3 separate regions of the Homo sapiens genome follow, and regions 2 and 3 are each linked to region 1. The links are contacts of gene promoters, found by promoter capture Hi-C in blood cells and fetal thymus (Javierre and others, 2016). All regions are on one chromosome and are shown on one strand. The core of a region is centred on a gene start or on the middle of the fragment in contact, and the rest is flanking DNA. Distances in the headings are between cores, read along the strand shown. Region 1 holds the start of KRT73 (keratin 73). Region 2 holds the start of KRT82 (keratin 82). Region 3 holds the start of KRT6C (keratin 6C).

Region 1 (3,546 bases), core at 720-3,219:
TGGGAGGGGCACCAATGTCTTCATTTCCCTCTCAAACTATCAAGATCTAGATCTCCTGTCTCCTCTGCACTTATCCAAACCTGCCTGGACCGATGTCCATGTTCAGTCCAGGCCACCTCTCCAAGGCAGCCCCTTAGACACAAGCTGGCCTGTGCTAGCCTTCACACTGTCAGGCCTTCTGCTCGGGGTCTGGTGGCCCGTGCTCTGCCTAGTCTCTCCCTCCTTGTGCGTGGGCTCTCCCAGCCCAGCCAGAGGCAGATGTTCAGCTTATCTGGGGTCTCCGGCCCTCCTAAGTTGCTTTCATGTCTGAATCTCTACTATCTCAATCACAGCATTGTCCCAGCAGCAGAACAAGCATTCTCAAGTTGCAACCTACAAATATATCATTCCCTTGCTTAAAACCCTCAGGTGGTTCCACATCACCCTCAGGGTCAAGTCCATATTCCTTATCACACTCTTCATAATGTGCCCAGCCCTCCTGGCTTCCTTCTTTACTCATACAGTGATGTCGTAAACCGAAGGTCTCCCATTCCCCAGACAAGTTCTACCATGCTGCACGTGCTGTCTCCCTAGATTGCCTTTTCCCCACCTCCATCTGAAAACTCCTACTCATGCCTCACCACCCTACCTCACTGTCGCTCCGGGTGAGCTTCCCCTGCTCCTCTAAGCTTAGGAAGTCTCTGCTTCCCAATACCTTCCTACCACTTTGTTCCTCAGTGATTCTCAAACCTGAGTGTACATCAGCATCACCTGGAGAGCTTGTTAAAATGCAGGGTGCTGGGCCCTGCTGCAGAGTCTCTGATTCAGTTGCTCTGGGGTGGAGCCTGAGAGTGTGCATTCTAACAAGCGTCCAGGTGACGTTGCTGCTGCTGGTTCCAGGGCCACCTTTGAGAACCACTGCTCTAGGGCACCGTGACCTCCAGCTGCCTTGCCTCATAGGCTGTGTGTGTTACGGACTGAGTCTGAGCTTTCAGGGGACACAGGAGGAACAGCTGGGTCGCATGGCAGTCTAGATGCCCCAGGCTGTCAAGGGCATCTCCTTCGCCTAGCTTCTAAGTCTCACAGGCTGTCACTCTGCTACTTCTCAACTCAGAGACCGCTCTCATTGCTTCCTGGACACCTTCCTGGGCTAGGCTGCTGGCTCCTCTCACCCCTCCAACCCTGGTCCCTTGCCTCTGATGTCCAGGCTTTGTCCAGTTCCTCCCTGGGCTATGTCTGCATCCTGGGGAGGTGTCCTGCCTTCGTCTGCTTCAGACAGGGAGCACCCCAAGGACAATGAAGGCGGGGGAAGGAAGGGGCTCTACGGCATGAGCAAGCCTTATGGGCCCAGCACCTGGGGAGCTTTCAAGTTGTTTACCTGGTGTCTGATTTTGCTGGGAGAAAATGATTTCTTGCTCTCAGGCAAATTGAACCACAAATTAGGGCAGTGGCTCCCTCCTGAGTCCTTAAAAGGGGAGCCCAAGATCAGCTTTCTCCAGAAAGACCCACCTTGTCAATGAAGGAGGCGAACTTGTTGTTCAGCACCTTGATCTGCTCCCGCTCCTGGGCACGCACTTTCTGGATTTCAGGGTCCAGCTCCACGTTCAGGGGTGCCAGGAGGCTCTTGTTGATGGTGACCTGATGGATACCCCCGGGCGGGCACAACGACGGACACACGGACCCCAAGGCCACACTGCCAAACATGCTGCCAGCAAAGCCACTGGCCCGGCCCCGGCCAAATCCATAGCCTCCTGCCCACCCACTGCCACTGGCCACATTGAAAGAGATGCTCCGGGCACCCCCCAGGCTGTAAAGGCTCCGACTGCTGAAGCCTCCACTGAGCCCTTTGCCCCCTGCTCGGTAGGAGGATGAGCTGCCCCCTGAGAGCACAGCGGAGCAGCCGCTGAAGCCCCCCTTGGCAGCAGCTCCCGACTTGTAGGTGAATTGGCGGCTCATGGTGGGGAGGCCAGAAAGTGGGGATAAGATGCTGACCCTTAGCTGAGATGCAGTTCACCAGCCTGTGATCCTGGGCTCCCACTTTATAGGACTCAAGAGGGAGCCATGGGCCTAATTTGTGGGTTCAGTTTGCCTGGAAGCAAGAAATCATTTTCTCCCAGCAAAATCAGACACCAGGTAAATGACTTGAAAACTCCCAAAGTGCTAGTCTTGCAAGTCTTGCTCATGTAATTTGAGTTTTATCTAATGAACATGTGTAATTAGCATGGGCACATTATCCATAGAAAGATCTTAGGTGGGAGGTTTGTCGCAGTCTCAATTGCTGTTCCCCAGGGAGTGGTGGGGCCTGGGATTGTAGGGGTACAGAGGGGAGACCTTTAATTGACAGTGTCATCTGTTAGAAATCTCACAACCATGCCAGCATCAGATGGGCTGCTTCAGGGACCCTGGCTGAGCTGCTTTTATGTGGTTAAGAAGAGGCTGCTGCTGCCTGGCTTCCCAGAGTTCCTGGAGACAGGTTTGATGGCTGGCCAGGGCCATAGGAGAGGAGCACACTGGGAATCCAGGACCAGCCTCTGGCTGCCAGCCCCCTGCTGTGCCCTCCCAGGCAGCTCTCCTGCTCCTCTGTGCCAGCCGGGCTGCCCTGCTCACCTTCCTTTGCACACACTGACTTCTTTTTCCCTTTACCATCCCACTACCCTGACTCTTGACCTTGAAATTATGGTCATTGCACCATTCACGATGGCTGACACTGGTGCAGCACTTTACAGTGTAACAGAGCTCCTCACACAAGAAGCTCATTTAATCCACTTAGTCTGCATGGAGGGGAATGGTGATGATCCACATTACACAAATGGGGAAACCAAGGTTCAGATAATTGAGGATGTCATTCCTTTAGCAAACATTTAGTGAGTCCTTTCTTTGTGTGAATCCCAGAGAATGAAAATGCCCCCAAAAAGCACAGGCCCCAGCCTTGAGGACTCCCTTGGCTGGTCTTCTGACTCCACATTCAGAGCTATGCCCGCCTTATTCATTCGTCCATCTATCCGTCCAACCAGCCAGCCAGCCATCTACTTGTTCATTCATTTATCCATTCGTTTAACAGACTTCTCTTGAGGGCTGACTCTCTCCCAGGTACTGTGCTAGGCTCTTGGGTCCCGAATTATGAAGACCAAACCTAGCTCACAATTTTGGAGATGGGGAGGTAGGGGAAGACATTTGAATTTCATGGATCCTTGACATTGCCAAAGTATGTGACCCAAGAGTTTCCCAAATCCCAAATCCCAAATATATCCATAGTATAGAATTTCCTCCATAAAAACACAAGTATTTCACTAGCTGGAGTACTTGAATGAACAGTTGGCCCATCCTTCTTTTCTATTTCTGTATAGAGGTTATGATATGCCTCTAAAATTGTTGTACTAAGCAATTGCCAAATTCAACCTCCCCTCTGTTTTATACAATATGGTTGTTTTCTAGTTAAGAATAATCATTTTCTTTGATGTCTTCAATTTCACTAAAGGCAATGCCACTTGGAAGTCCTTTAATCTTTTTTAGCTAACATGAAGTTCTATTCCTTTTTTTCTTTTTTTTTTTTTTTTTTTTTGAGAT
Region 2 (3,546 bases), core at 372-2,871, 210 kb before region 1:
GATGTTGTTGCTAATTCGGGCCCATGTTTTTGGAATAAGTTTATAGCCAGAACTTAATAAGCTTTAGAAATAAAACTGTAAGTTTGACTAAACAAGTTCCTCTGTGAAGCACTTTGGCATATATTACCTCCTCTAATCTCCCACCGTCATTCCTCCCCTTCCTCACTGGGCAGCACCGTCCAAAGGCCAAGAGGTGAATGGCTTGCCCGGGGATTCCGGGTGTAGGAGTAGAGTCAATGCCAGTGGCCAGGGCTCCTGACCTCTGGCCCAGGACTCTTGCCCCTAAACCTTACGGTCACCAGAAACACCAGCTCAAACTGTGGAATGAATCCTCACCCCAAGAGCCTCCCTGGGGCGTGGGATGGACCCAGAGGCTGTTGAGTCCTTCAGCACCTTCAGAAGGCATGCCACATCTTTTCCTGCAGTGGGTGCTGTACTGTAGATGTGGGAATCTGCGCTCTTCCTGCAGTGGGTGCTATACTGTAGATGTGGGAATCTGCACTGTTCCTGCAGTGGGTGCTGTGCTGTAGATGTGGGAATCTGCACTGTTCCTGCAGTGGGTGCAGATTCAGTTCAGCACCTTCTGAAGGCATGCCTTCCTAGCAGCCTTTCAGTGGCTCTGGAGATGACAGATGTAAGACTTTTGTGACCGTCACCCTGTGCCTCTAGCTCTGACTGTCCACTTTCCTCTCATCCCAGGCCTAAAATGATTGGAAACTCTGAGGTCACAGTGTCCATCCTCACCTTCAGGCTCAAGAGTTGTGACACAGCTCAGGCACACAGAAGGCGGTTCTACTGTTAAAGCCTCATCAGGAAGGGCATTTCTCTGCCTCTCTGGTCATTCCTTTCAGTATTGCTTTGGAAGTTCCTCTTATAGTCTGACCTCAGGCAACCTTGGTGATTGGTGATTTTGTCAGATAATATTCAGAGAAAGATGATATATTTTAAGAAAGACAAGGAAGCAGAAATGTTTAGTGCAGAATCTGATCTAACTGGCTTTCAAAGGCTGGTGGTCGTGGAATGTGAGGGAGGCCACTGGATAAACTGAGGCCTCCTCAATGTCAGTCTCCTCCTGGTTCCCTTGGACCAGAACAAGACCAGACCCCAGATCTGCAGTGGGTCCTCTCACGGCCCTGGGCCACTGCCCCCTTACCTTGTTGATGAAAGATGCGAAACGGTTGTTGAGGCACTTGATCTGCTCCTTCTCATCCCTCTTTACCCTCTGCACAGTCGGGTCTATCTCCAGTGCCAGTGGGACCAGCAGGCTCTCATTGATGGTGACAGGGGTGATGCAGGCAGAAGGCCCACAGGTGGCTCCCAGTCGGTACCCGAAGCCAGGCAGGGTACCTCCACACCTGGAGGCTACCCGGGGCCTCCCAAAGCCCACGTTGCACAGGCTCCGTGAGCCAAGGCAGCCCAGAGCTCGGAGGCCCCTACCACCCCCGGGCCGGCATGGCCCCTTGCTCACTGCATAGTGGGTGACCATCCGGGGCATGACAGCCGAGTATGAGCTGAAACTCTGACTGCCACACCTGGAGCCTGGCTGGAAAGAGTGGTACGACATGGCAGGAGAGAGAGGCAGAGAAATGCGGCCCTGGAGGAAAGAACCGGGGCAGGATGATCAAGTCAGGCTCAGCTTCCCCCCTTTTATCTGGTAGGGGGATGGAGGACTGAGATGTGTCAAACCCCAAATCACCATTAAACTAGGTTTATGAGCTTGGGATATTGGCAGAGCTAAGTAGCAAGGTGGATAATTAGGGTAGCGAAGAGCAAAGAGAAGGGGCCAATGGTCAGTGCTGGTGGGCCCTATAAAAATCCTATTTGTCCTCCTTCCTTGATTGTGGGGGTGATGAAAGGGGCCAACCAGACAGATATGTTCCATGTATCCAGTGGCTCAGCCTCAAGGAAAGGGAGAGTTGGGACTACGTCATTTCATAGGAGGGGAGGCGTGCCATGAATTATACACCCTGGCTTCTCTGGGATTAGAGGGCAAGTCCCATATGCTTAAAGATGCTCTGGCTCTTTCCCCAAGGCTGCTCCTAGGCTTTTTTGCAGATCCTCAACCCAAGTGCCCTCTGTGGGCTCCTAGGTGAGTCAGGAAGTTCCCAGGAGGAAGGCTTTTGGGGTGGGAGAATCCTCCCTACAACAGGCCGGACCTTAACCCTCCTGAGCTCTGGCTCAGTGACCCACTGTCCCATGAGGGTCTTGAAGGTAGACAGACTCCAGGCATAGACACTTTTCTACAGGGCCCATCAGTCCACAAAGGCTGCAGGGAACTCAAGAGGAGAGGCCTGGTGCTTGAGAAGGGCAGAGGAAGGGACGCTCTCCTCAACACTTCTGGGGCCCCCAGAAGGCATGATTTCAGCATCAGGTCTCGGCTTCCATGTGGCTGTTCCTTTCCCCTTTTGCCCAACCCAGCCTGAGTGTCCCTGAGGTCAACAGAGCCAGCTTTGGCCTGAGGATGTCTCTGGGGAGAGTTGTTGCCCTTGGGAATTTTCAGGTGGAGGTGGGATTCAGGTTTTCTTTCCAGCTCAGGTCGCAGACACAGCTCTTTGGAGATGTCTGAAGCCCCCGCCTCACTCTCTTTCCTCCTCTTTTCCATCAATTTCATCAGTGAAACTTTTGCCATGGCCGAATGGCCTTTCCCTTCCACACTGAGACTTATCACCAGGTCAAAATCAAACCAATAATAATAATAATAACAATAATAAACATTTATTGGGCATTTATTGTGTGTTGGGACCACTCCGTACTCTTTACATCCATGGTCTCATTTAATTCTCTGACCACACAATGAGATAGTTACTATGCCACAGACAGGAAAATGGGAAGCACAGCAGTTAAGAGCAACATCCCCAAGTCACACAGCTTGTGGCTGATCAGCTGGGAGTCCATCCTGTTCCTTTTGACTTCACCCTGCCATGCTGCTCCACAGCAGGGAAGCCCAGGTGAGGAATTGGGAATCTGCTGCCCATAAATGTTCTGTTGTCCCTGTCCGTCAGCCTTCCAACCTGTGGATTAGGAGACTGGAACTCAAAGGTTTCCTGAGCCTCAGAAATTCTCAGTCTCATTGTGACATTTCACACTCCCTGTCCCCTTTTTCATAGTCCTGACTGTGGGCCCCAGAGTAGTGGAGGAGGAGGGGTGCAAGGCGAGACCACAGGCCACAATGGGAGGCAGAAGGTTGGGTGAGGGGGTCCAATTGCAGGGTGTCAGGGGAAGAAGACCACACTCTTCCCTGGACTGAGTCCACAGAGGGGGCCCAGGATGGTGTGAATGTTGATGGAGACACTCAGAGGCCCCACCAGAGAGCAGATTCCCACTAGAGGGGGTGAGGGAGACAGTGAGCTGCACCGGAGGGCAGGGGTCACTGCAGCAGTGGACACAGCAGAGTCTCCCCGCCATGTCCAGGCCAGAGGAGGGCCTCAGTGAGCATGTTGGGCTCCTGGAGTCCAGAACCAGAGCTCAGGAGCAGAGGGCAGGGCGGTTCCTTGGATTCATTGTGGGAGGGAGGCACCTGTTTCCTGAGCCCCCCGAGTCCAGGGT
Region 3 (3,546 bases), core at 267-2,766, 140 kb before region 1:
GAAGCAAGATGGTCATTTTCCAGGCAAAGGAAGGAAGAAAAAGTGTCTGGTATCCAGTTTCCTGGCAGGTCTTGGAGGTCCCCATGGTGCTGGGCTACTACAGTGCATGTGGAGAGGCTCAGGCTGAGCTCTGCTCCCCCAACCCCTTCTCCTTTGCACCCCACCAGTCTCACTAGAGAAATTGTCCCATGGACCATTGAGGTGTTCTCACGCTGTAAGCTATTGATCATCAGTGAGTTTCAACATTTCTTCTCTTCTTTTTCCAGGCACAATCACAAATCTAGTTTAAAAATACTAATTACCTGATATATTGTACACAGTTTTTTTACTGATAGGATCTTAGTTAGGAGAGATATTATATGTTGACTCATGATTACATTTCAGTCTACTTTCCCATTTAGTGTCTCCTCTCAAATATTCTGATGTTATGGTCATTCTCTGTTTTTAAAATTAATTAGCATTTATCCATGTTTTACAGTTGTTTCTATGTCCCTTTTTTTCTTAATCCAGCCAGATTATCTTTTCCTTTTCTTTCTAAATCTTTTTCCTCTTACCCAGACCCCAGAGTGTAATTTACCAGCCCATATACTCCTGGCATTTGCTTTGTAATCTCTTAAACACTTCAGAGGGGAGAATTAACCTACTCCACTCTCTGATGGCCTCATCTGTGCTTCAGGGTTATGAAAAGTTACGGCTCTCCCTAGGCAGGAGTGAGGGCCACTCCAGAGATCCCATGGGGGAGTGATGCCCATCTGTGCTGCCTCCTGTGCACCGAGAGCCACCTGCACTCTCTGCAGAGCTGGGCTGAATCCCCTTCTCCCTCCCTCCTAGGTCTCCCTAGCAGGAAGGTGTTGCTCTTCTGGTCTGGGGACCCTGAAGTGCCCGATGGAGGGCATGGCACTGGCTCACCTTGTCGATGAAGGAGGCAAACTTGTTGTTGAGGGTCTTGATCTGCTCACGCTCCTCGGCCCGCACCCGCTGGATGGCGGGGTCAATTTGCAGGTTGAGGGGAGTCAGGAGACTCTGGTTGACGGTGACCTCTTGGATGCCTCCAGGGGGGCACACAGGGAAGCCAGGGCCCCCAAAGCCACCAGCAAGGCCGGCTCCACCACCCAGACCAAAGCCAATGCCGGCTCCACCACCGAAACCAAATCCACTCCCGGCGCCACCAAAGCCATAGCTGCCTCCGGCTCTGCTGCCATAGCCGCCACTGATGGCACAGCTGCCCCCTCCAATGGAGATCCTCTTGGAGCCCCCCAGGCCATACAGACTGCGGCTGCCAAAGCCAGCTCCTCCACATGCACCACCCAGGCCACCACTGCCCCTGGAGCGGGACACGGAGATGCTGCTGAAGCCAGAGCGGCTGACCCCAGGGAGCCTGGCTGAGTTGGCACTGAAACCCCGGCGGCTGCTGCTGTGGCTCCTGATGGTGGTGGATGTGCTGGCCATGGTTCCAGGAGATGAGAGGGCTGTGGCGAGCGTTGGAGGCTGGAGGCGAGAGGCAGGAGAAGCAGGACAAGGAATCGGGCTCCAGCAGTAGCTTATATATTATGAGAGAGCATGGGCTGGGCCCAGTCCTGGAAGGTGAGCTTGCAGGTTGGGAAGGGCTGGGCTTTACAAATAGTGAGATCACACCTGGATCAGAAAAGTTATGAAATGCTGAGATGGCATTTTTCACTTCCTTTAGTCAGGGAAAATGTTCCTGCCTCCAGCTTTGACTCGAGATTTCAGCACAGTAAGAGCATTCTCAGTTCATGAAGTTGAAGTTAGTCACTGTCTTCAGCAAAGGTTCTGCATGCTAGGCTGTTTATCAACATGCTGTGAGTGCTTTCCTCTTTCCAGCCTGACTTTCTTCCAGCAGAGATGTTGGAGATCACAAGCACTGTATTGCAAATGCCTTAACAGAAATATTAACATTTTTCCTGTAATTATTTTTCCTTCTGTGTGCAATTTCAAACATGTAGAGGAGCAGAACACAATGGGCCTGTATATACCTATTACCTGTTTCCATGATGATTACCTTATGGCCAGTCTTATTTCTTGTATATTTCCACCCGGTTCCCTTATCAATGTTAAATTTTTTTAAATCCCAAAAATATTTGGGATTTAATTCAATATTAATTCAATATTAATCTTTAAATGATAGACCTTTTAGAAATATAACTGAAATATTATTTTGTATTTTAAAAATGTATGTATTTATTAAGTCTTCGCCCTCAAGGAGTTGACTCTAATAAAGATGACAACACAAAAGGAGATAGAAGACATCACATCCAGTGGCATCACTGAGCTAGAAAGAAAGTAATGCTTTACTAGGAAGAAAAGAGCATAGAGAGGGGGTGTAGAGGGGACAGTGGGGAAGGGTAATTTTTTTTCTTTTTTTTTTGAGATAGAGTCTCTCTCTGTCACCCAGGCTGGAGTCCAGTGGTGCGATCTAGGTTCACTGCAACCTCCGCCTCCCAGGTTCAAGAGATTCTCTCACCTCAGCCTCCTGAGTAGTTTGAGATTACAGGTGGCCACCATCAAGCACGGCTAATTTTTTGTATTTTTAGTAGAGATGGTGTTTCGCCATGTTGGCCAGGCTGGTCTCGAACTCCTGACCTCAGGTGATCCACCTGGCTCAGCCTCCAAAAGTGCTGGGATTACAGGCATGAGCCACTGCTCCCAGCCAATTTGTGTATTTATTAACATCAATGTGTCTATTCAATTCTCCAATGTCCTTTTTCATTTATTTCCTTATTGTTTACAATTCTTTTGTTGATAAGACCAGGTTAATTGTCCTGAGTAGTGTTTCAGTCTTTGGGATTTCCTCATTGCTTACTCACAGTGTTTCATTTAAGATGCTACTGTGTCCTCTATATTTCCTGCAAACTGATCATTAAAACTTGAAGCTTAATAAGACTCTCATATACTTAGACTTTCCAGATGTGGATGTAGTAGAATGCCTATTTAAATACTGAAAATTGGCCGGGCGCAGTGGCTCACGCCTGTAATCCCAGCACTTTTTGGAGGCCGAGGGGGGCGAATCACCTGAAGTCAGGAGTTTTAGACCAGCCTGGCCAACATGGTGAAACCCCATCTCCACTAAAAATACAAAAATTAGCTGGTGTTGTAGTGCTTGTCTGTAATCCCAGCTCCTACTCCAGAGGCTGAGGTGGGAGGATCCCTTGAACCCGGGAGGCAGAGGTTGCAGTGAGCCGAGATTGCACCACTGCACTCCAGCCTGGGTGACAGAGTGACATTCTGTCTCAAAAAAATAAATTAATTAAAATAAAAAAATTGAAAATTGTTATTTACACATTCATTTATATGTTTATAAATTGAATATGTAATAAATGTTTAAGGAGAAAATACTTACTAAAGCCATTCCCCAGCCATGCAAACTTTTTATGTGGAAGTAGGCACTGTTACCAGGTCCTTGTGTATCCTTCTAGTAACTTTACTTGGATATGTTTCTGAGCTTTTTCTGGGGAATATGTGAGATTTGTGTATTTGTGTGTGTGTGTGCATATGTATGTGTATGAGAGAGAAGACAGAGGGTGAGAG

The links. The method cuts DNA at HindIII sites, captures the fragments that hold promoters and counts their contacts. A CHiCAGO score of 5 or more calls a contact.
Region 2: a contact is called between the fragment with the promoter of KRT82 here and the fragment with the promoter of KRT73 in region 1, in 4 of 17 cell types (endothelial precursors, M0 macrophages, monocytes and 1 more). The highest score is 8.5, in endothelial precursors.
Region 3: a contact is called between the fragment with the promoter of KRT6C here and the fragment with the promoter of KRT73 in region 1, in 5 of 17 cell types (endothelial precursors, neutrophils, monocytes and 2 more). The highest score is 9.2, in endothelial precursors.

What each region holds. Positions count from the first base shown.
Region 1 is chr12:52,616,590-52,620,135 of GRCh38, forward strand. It overlaps KRT73 (keratin 73), which reads right to left and starts at 1,970. Exons shown (of 9, transcript NM_175068.3): 1 at 1,489-1,970. The coding sequence starts at 1,935. The HindIII fragment of the contact is 4,368 bases long and covers 667-3,546 here.
Region 2 is chr12:52,404,714-52,408,259 of GRCh38, forward strand. It overlaps KRT82 (keratin 82), which reads right to left and starts at 1,622. Exons shown (of 9, transcript NM_033033.4): 1 at 1,154-1,622. The coding sequence starts at 1,564. The HindIII fragment of the contact is 6,676 bases long and covers 60-3,546 here.
Region 3 is chr12:52,472,289-52,475,834 of GRCh38, forward strand. KRT6C (keratin 6C) reads right to left here and starts at 1,517. Exons shown (of 9, transcript NM_173086.5): 1 at 910-1,517. The coding sequence starts at 1,449. The HindIII fragment of the contact is 8,852 bases long and covers 1-2,889 here.